Linked DNA regions of Homo sapiens: region 1 is linked to region 2. Evidence: promoter capture Hi-C in 16 types of primary human blood cells and fetal thymus (Javierre and others, 2016). All regions are on one chromosome and are shown on one strand. The core of a region is centred on a gene start or on the middle of the fragment in contact, and the rest is flanking DNA. Distances in the headings are between cores, read along the strand shown. Region 1 overlaps USP51 (ubiquitin specific peptidase 51). Region 2 holds the start of RRAGB (Ras related GTP binding B).

The links. The method cuts DNA at HindIII sites, captures the fragments that hold promoters and counts their contacts. A CHiCAGO score of 5 or more calls a contact.
Region 1: a contact is called between a fragment that was not itself captured here and the fragment with the promoter of RRAGB in region 2, in 2 of 17 cell types (non-activated CD4 T cells and activated CD4 T cells). The highest score is 6.5, in non-activated CD4 T cells.

Annotation. Positions count from the first base shown.
Region 1 is chrX:55,480,437-55,484,656 of GRCh38, forward strand. It overlaps USP51 (ubiquitin specific peptidase 51), which reads right to left. Exons shown (of 3, transcript NM_201286.4): 3 at 4,180-4,220. Among named protein-coding and RNA genes, the nearest start is that of USP51, 7.3 kb to the right of the region's middle. The HindIII fragment of the contact is 561 bases long and covers 1,165-1,725 here.
Region 2 is chrX:55,714,847-55,719,092 of GRCh38, forward strand. RRAGB (Ras related GTP binding B) reads left to right here and starts at 2,903. Exons shown (of 10, transcript NM_006064.5): 1 at 2,903-3,573. The coding sequence starts at 3,482. RefSeq lists enhancers at 3,032-3,231, 3,392-3,521. The HindIII fragment of the contact is 6,209 bases long and covers 618-4,246 here.

The sequences.
Region 1 (4,220 bases), core at 195-2,694, 240 kb before region 2:
AATCTGAGTGACATGACCCCTTTTATAATCTGTGGAAACTGCCTTGGTAGTGCTTCTGTGCTCTGAGTGCTCCTTCTCTCTTGATTTGGGAGATATGAGATATGAGAAGGCCTCTTGGAGGAGGCAACACTTGACCTGGGTGTAGAGGAGAACAAAACCAGGGTGGAGGATAGATCCTTAGAGGTTGGTCTAGACCAGGACAGCTTCTGTCGATGCAGCACAGCCTGGTGGTTAACATCCAGTCTTTGTGACCCAGCTCTGTGTCTTAGTTACTATTTATTTTGGAAAAAATAATCAAGTTCTCTGAGTCTCATATTCTTTATCAAGTATAGCCAACAGTAAGACACACCCCACTGGGAGAGCCCTGCCTGATGAGTATTTGCTCAGGTAACAATCCCATGTAATGTGCTGGAAAATATGCTTCCAGAGAGCTAGCACTTCTTATCTGCTATGGACATGTGTGGGTCAAAGAGAGTATTTGGACACTGACACGTGGGACAAGAGATATGACTATTTTTTCTTTTTAGCTTCAACCATATGTAGATAGCAAGCATTTTGCTATCCACCAAATGCTTTACAAAGACTGTTAGTTTTAGTCTCCTCTACAATCCTTGGAGGGCTGTGCACAAGACTCTGTTACTGGCCCAGTGTTGCCAGTTAATAAATGGCAAATCTGGGATGTGATTTCAGCTCAAGTCTTTCTGGTGCCTCAGTCATCTTCTTCCTAGTTAGGCCTCACCACAGGTACCTCATCATAAATAAGTAGAAATCATAGGCCAGTCAGTTTAATTCTCTATTAAAGGGTTGGTGAGAAAGAGGGTTCAAATTGTAAGTTTGCATATAGAATACAGGTGTGTCTTTAAGGGGACTCTTTTAAAAACAGATCAATTTAGGGCATGGTTAGATTCTGGATAAGGCCTCATCTGCATACAAAAAGGATTTTCTACACCTGTCCTTAGATACCAACTTCTCTGATACATTTAAAACATGATACAGTTTTTAAAAATTTGATTTTCTGTGCAATCCCTTCCTCAACTCCACTTGCTCCACCTCTAGCTGCAGTCCCTTTCTCAGATTTGGCATACCCTCCTGGTATAAGGGAAGGGGAAACTGCTCCTAAACGGTAGCCAACATGGCAACATTATGATCTGGATTTTTTGGGAAAGCTTTAACTTCAAATATTCTGTGATTGTTGTTCCGTTATCTGCAAATATCATATATCTCTTTACTAAATGGAATAAAGTAGTAAAATAAGGAATTTTGAAAAAATAAGTCATTTTAACTTAAGCAAAAGTAGTTTCAACAGAGTGGTGCAAGCAGAAACCAGAATGCAGGGAACTAAAGATGGAGCAGGAGGTAAGTGAAAATAATGTATGAAAAAAACACATGTGAAAGAGTTTGGCAGTAAAAGGAAGGGGAGCAAAGGTAATGTATTTTTCTTTTAAACATGATCCCCAAATCTGGATTTTAAAACAGACTCTTGGGTTTCTTCTGGGGATAATATACACTCAGGAGAAGTATTGGGATTTGGAATACTTTTTTTATCTCTTACAGAGATGATGGGACAACATTTTTGAGGAACTACCATAGAAAATCTAGGATGTCTAGTTGCTGGATTTTATCTGTCTAGCAAAAACATGGCTGTTACTAGAATAGAGGGAAGTGTGTAGGAGTAAGGCCCTCTGACTGTTAGGAATGGACGAGAAGAAGGAGGCTAGTGGGTGAAGCTTCAGAAAAGAAGCAGTATTCCTTTTCCTTTGAAATGACAGTGAAGGCATGGAGGATGGATGGAAACTTAAGTGTGTAGATGTGGGTAAATCAGGCATTCTTATGAGATTTTTGATTTCAGAAAAATAGGACATGAAGTCACCTGCTGAAGCTGAGGCTTAGAGTGTAGAACGGAATGTCTTCATTTATTCATTCATATATTCATTCAGCTAGCATGTTAAGTACCTGCCATAAACTGTGGTAGGCCTGTGGGATTTATAAACACATAGGTCCGGCCCTAGCCTGGAGTAGCCACTACTGTGTGTTTGGAAGAGAATCAAGGTAAAGGAAATGAAAGTAATTCAGAAACAACAGAAGCTGTACATTACAAATCAGTATTGGACCACTTGGGTAAGGTCCCAATAGGTAAGTCCCTCCCCGGGCTCGTTGGAGGAGCTGGTGTTGTGGGCATTTTGGGAAGATCTGAGGGAGAGGGGTGATAAAAGTGACACTCAAAGTGATGGCTATGGTGTTGAAGTTAGAAAAGAAGTCTTGTATGGCTAAAGAGCTGATGGTTTTACAGACCGCAAAAACATGAGATCTTACAGTCACGTCTTGGGGCTCAGCCTGGCATATAGCATTGAGTGAGGCTATATGTCTTATATTGGGGGTAATATTTTGGCTTCATCCATCATGATTATCCTTAGGAAAGTCATTTAGCCTGATCTATCTGAATCAGCCATTTCCACAGAAACAAATACCCCTGTAGCATGGGCAACTTTGTGTAGTAGATAGGTTACTCTCTCCTTGCAGGTTACCTGCATCCAGATTTGTCAGAAGCTGCCTTCTGTACCACGCTGGTTTATCCTGTCTTCCATAGCAAAATCAGGAAAAGCAAAAATATATATATTTGAATTATCTATACTGGATTATGATGGGACATGCATGGGCTTTGGGGACCTGCATTTGAATACTGGCTTCACTGATTAGAACAGTAGAGTGAACTTAAGCAAATCACTTTTCTATTCTGATTTTCACTTTCCCAGTTTGCGAAATATGTTCAGTAATGATTGTCTCCCAGAACTATGAGGACCCAGGACCAAGTGAGATAATAAAGGTAAAGCAGTTAACACAGTGCCTGATTTAAATCAGTACTCATATAACATTATTGCTTTTTTTCCCTTTTATTTGGAATAAGCATTTCATTACTGTGAGTAAGGTTTGAAGTCTAGCACAGGTCAGTGGCTGAGCTGAAACTTGCTTCTTAAAGATGTACAGGGACCCACTATAGTTTCTTAATTTTATATGATGAAGTTCATCCAAGGTCACTCCTCCTTCCCTTTTCTCTCTCATGCTTTGTGGTCTTAGGAACTGATGCTCCACTAATCATATAGCTTGGTTAGTATGTTCAAGACCCTTGGCTGCAAATGACAGGATCCCAACTGACAACTAGCTTAAGCAAAACAAAGGACTCTATTGGCTCAGATAGCTGGGAACTTTGGCGCTTCTGGCACAGCTGGATCCACAAGGTTCAAACGATGTTCCCTGGGCTCTTTCTCCCAATCTCCAGTTCTTTCTGGTTTTCTCTTTGTGTTATAGATATTGACCTCTCAAAGTCCCAGAATCAGGTTATCATAGCATAGTGACTACAGCTTGGGGGTGGGATCAGGAGGGAGACACGTTTTTTCTTCCAGTGTCCACATACCTTCAATTTAGCAACAGACTCTGATTGGCCCTACTTGGGCCCTATGCCCACCCTCAGAAGAAATGCTCCTGTGGGAGGGGTACTGGTAGAGGGACAGGGGAATTGAGAACTCTAATCTGGCCCAGCCTGAGTGATGTGCCCACTTGGGGAGGGGTGACAGAGGCAGGGAAAAGTGATCAGTAGCCCCAATAGGTCCACAAAGAATGGCGGGAAAATGAGGGTGCCGAGCAGAAAAATAAACTACAGCTCTTCAATAAACACTGTTACCAGACATCACTCCCTTGTAGTAGAGTGATGATGTGCAGTGTGATGAAGAACACTGTGCAGTGATGAGGTACTACTGTCTCACGGGGAAGGTAAACTAATGTGGTAAACCCTAGAGAGGTGTGGTACACAGTTGTGAGACACTGCTGCTGAGGAACACTGTGATGAGGGGCAGTGTGGCCACACACATGCCAGAGAGCTCAGCCTCACCTTCAGCTGCTGCTCCTCATCCCCACCCAGTCTTCCATGACTGCCAACTTCCAGGCCTGTGCTCTTTTCTCTGCATTGTACCTGGGCCTCCCTCCACACACCTGGCTATTTCTCACTGAGCACCTTTCTTAAGCCAGCCCCTGCAGCTGAGTGCTTTTCATATCCTGCTTTGGGGTAAAATACAATACTGATCACACTGTAGTATAGCACTGGGCATTTAATGGCAGCCTGATGGATGAAGGGGTGAGAAAACATTACTGACAAGGTGAATAGAGCAAATAACTGAACTCATCTTCACATTTAACAAATATTTATTAACACAGAAATGAATAAG
Region 2 (4,246 bases), core at 1,653-4,152:
CAAGCAATTCTCCTGCCTCAGCCTCCCGAGTAGCTGGGATTATAGGCGCGTGCCACCACACCTGGCTAATTTTTGTAGTTTTAGTACAGATGAGGTTTCACTATGTTGGCCAGGCTGGTATCGAACTCCTGACCTCAGGTGATTCGCCCACTTTGGCCTCCCAAAGTGCTGGGATTACAGGTGTAAGCCACTGCACCTGGCCGAGACAGTACATTTTTATAAAAGAGTGGTTTAAGGGGCCAATTTGGCTGGTGAAGCCCGGGGGCAGTAGGTGTTGGAAGACATATTTGAAAGCTGCCTTTAGAAAGCAAGCACATATTAATTACGTCAAATGTTTTGGGGGATGAGATGACTAATGAAGATCAACTCACTCACTCCCAACCCCTTTGGAGCTGCCACTGTGGGAAAATCACTTAGTAGGCTATTGTGGATATCTAGGCCAGAGATTATGATAGCTGGAACAAAAAGAGTGGCAGTAAGAATAAGAGCAGGCAGGTAGTAGAAAATAGACTGATCATGACCTGGTCTCATTGACACGTATGGAGGGCAGTGAATCTAAGGTGACTTCCTGGTTTGGGACTCAGGATCTTTCATCAGACAAGGAAAGCCAGAATGGAAGCTTGTTTGGGGGTAGTTGGTTGGAAGGAGACAAAAGATTAGCTAGTGATAGAGCGAAGGATCACTAATCAGAGTAGAATAACTTTTTTCTTGAGGCAAGGCAGTTGTGGAGAAAAGGAATCACACAGGACCTCAAGTGGAAAGTGTGGGAGCAGACAGTGTAACTGCCCAACGGGTTCACCTTGCCTGCTGCCTAGACAGAGCTGATTTATCAAGACAGGGGAATTGCAATGGAGAAAGAGTAATTCATGCAGAGCCAGCTGTGGGTGAGACTGCAGTTTTATTACTCAAATCAGTTTCGGGGGATTGAAATTTTTAACAATAATTTGGTGGGTAGGGGCTTGGGAAGTGGGGAGTGTTGACTGGTCAAGTTGGATATGGAATCATAGGGGGCTCTAAGTGAGTTTTTCTTGCTATCTTCTGTTCCTGGGTGGGATCGCAGAACTGGCTGGGCCAGATTACTGGTCTGGGTGCTGTAAGTGAAACGAGGGAAGTTCCCCTATCCCCCTTGCAGGGCATGCCACAGCGGGAGTGGCTCACTGCTTCACAACCTCTAGGGGGAGCATGCAGAGGGGCAGGCTGTGGGGCTCCGACCCCATGGCAACCTCTAGGGGTGAATATAACATTTGGGTGGGAAGGCAGGAGTGCCTATCCTCACCTAGGTCCATGGGCACAGGCCCCAGGGTGGAGCCCTAGCCACGGACCCGCCTTTCTCTGCCCAGCACTTTCCTGCCCCGCTCCTGTATCATAAGCTGGTGCATCTGAATGCAGGGTCTGCAAAACATATCAAACAGTGATCTTAGGTTTTAAAACAGTGATGTTATTCCTGGGAGCAATTTGGGGAGGTTCAGACTCTTGCAGCTGGAGGCTGCATGGCCCCTGAATTGTAATTTCTAATCTTGTAATCTTGTGGCTAATTTGTTAGTCCTGCAAAGGCCGACTGGTTCCCAGGTAAGAAGGTTTTTTTGTTTTTTTGTTTTTTTTTAGTGGGGGGCAGCGGGAGGGAGAAAGGGCTATTATCAATTTTGTATCAGAGTTAAACTATAAACTAAATTCCTTCCCAAGGTTAGTTCGGCCTACGCCCAGGAATGAACAAGGACACCTTAAAGGTTAGATGTAAGATGGAGTCGGTGAGGTCTGATCTCTTTCACTGTCATAATTTCCTCAGTTACAGTTTTTGCAAAGGCAGTTTCAATAATAGTACTCTGTTTCCTGCAGTTTCTCTTCCTTCCTTCCCTTTTTTTCTTATCAAAGTAATATATGTACACACTTACGTGTAAATAATACATGTAGTATATCATATATTAATTATAAATAATATAATTAAACTACACATTTATTTAAAATAACATATTTATAACATATTATTTAAGTATTAGTTGATTATATTAAATATAATTAAATGTCATATTAATCTTATTATTATATATCATTTATACATTATAGAAATATATATAGCACAGAAGGGCTTCAGATAAAAAATAATAGTCCCCTGACATATCACGTCCTATCCCCTACCCCATTCTCCAGAAGGAACATCTTTGAACCCCTCTGGGCATTTTTCCTGGTGTGCATATCCCTACCAGTAGTCTTTCTGTTCTCAATTCTAGACTTCACTTATTTACAGATGGGGTCTCGCTATGTTGGCCAGGTTGGTCTTGAACTCCTGGCCTCAAGTGATCCTCCCTCCCCAGCCTCCCAAAGTGCTGGGATTAAAGGCATGACCCACCACTCCCAGCCCTAGACTTTATTTATTGACTTCTTACTATGGTACTTCCTTCACTTCCTGTTTTAAACAAGTGGGAAGATGAATGTGTGTGTTAAAATTCCTGATGAATCCCTGGTTTCAGCAATAACGATAATTTATACAGTATTTGCTATGTGGAAGACACAGTTCTAAGCGCTTTGGATGTATTAATCATTTAATTACAAACTCGATTGCAAGAATTAACAATAAAAAGCAGGAAGGCAAAGACAATGCTCGGTCTTCCCAGTCAAAAACCATTACCGGTAACCAGCAGTAAAAAAGAGAAGCTCAGAGGCACTGAAATTGCAACCGGCTCCTTTAATTCTCCATAGCGGATGGGTGGGGCCAGGCCCACCCACATTAGAGAGGCTGAAGGCTCCCAGCGCCCTACCCCGCCCGAGGGGCGGAGCCTGAGCCAAGGCCACGTGATGATGACAGACGGCACTCTGGCTTTCCTGGAGCTGTCTCTATGGTATTCTTCCCAGCCCACCCGTCCCTTTGGTAGCGGCAGTCACGTGACAGACTCCGGGGTAAGGCAGATGCCCACGTGATCCTGGCCTGCAGTTGGGTGGCTGCGGTGAGATACCTGGGTTCCTGAAGGGCGGGTGGTTAGGTCGTAACTACTGCCCCCGCCGGCTGACTCTCCGAGCGGCCGGGCTCGGAAGCCACGAGCCAGCTGAGGCGTTCTCCGCTTAGTGCCTACGGCATGGGTCAGCTCTTTCTGCCACCTCCGCCTTCGCGGTCCTCACCTCTTTGCGGGTGAAGTTACCTTTGGGTTTCCAGACCTTGGGGGCCTGAGGCCCAAACTCGGGACGAACCCCTAACCCACCTCTCTTTTCCTGTCATTCTCCAACTCTTACTTTGTACCACGGAATCACTTGGCCTTAAAGCTAGCCAGCTCGGCCGTGCCTTGAGGCCAGGTTCGAGAGATAAAGGTAACCGTGGGGAAAGCGGCCCCCCAGTGGACAAAGGCGGAGGCAAGAATAGAGCAGGCCTGAGGGCCATAGGCGATGAGAATAGGCAGTTGAGGGGTGAAAAAGAAAACAAACAAACAACAACAACAAACCCTGAAGAGTACTGAAGATTTAGAAGGGACTGGAAAGGACTTGTTGCGCAATGGAAGAATCTGACTCTGAGAAAACGACGGAGAAAGAAAATCTGGGGCCGAGAATGGATCCACCACTAGGGGAACCGGAAGGATCGCTTGGGTGGGTGAAGGGTATTTGTGAAACCTGGAAGTGGGGGTGTTCAAATTGAAGAGAGTATTGTGAATTAGAACACTTCTCCCCACCCCGCACCATGATAAATTGCTTTGATTTACCAGTAATGTTGATTGGGATTATGCTTTGGACGACAGGATAAACTGGAAAGCGAATTGGTGCTAACTGATCAGAAACAACCCTTGGGAAGGGGCTGATATTCCTGGTGGTGGTGCTGGGGGAGTGTTCTAATTAAAGCAGTTATGAGTTGCTTTGAATTATCAGTAAAGGAGATTTGCTGTCACCAGGTTGGGGATGGAAAGACTAGAAAGAAGATTTGCATTTCCAGGTCAGAGCTTGAGGGTGTTTTCTGTGCCAATTTGTACCTGAATTTGAGACTTACATCTACTTTGTGTCTGTGATGAGTGAAATAGGGCTTGGAAGGACAGCTGAAGGACTAAAAAGATACTTCCAGATTTTAAAATTAGGAGGCTGAATGTTTTTTATACATAGAAGATATTCAATACTCAGTCCTCAAGTAGAGGATATCAATATATTCTGTTTTTTTAGAAATAGAAGATATTGTTTGATTAAAGCAGCTGTGTTGCTTTGATTAAGATGATGAAAAATTGAATCTTGAATTTTAATGGCTCATTTGTATTCCTAAATAAATCTTCCTAGG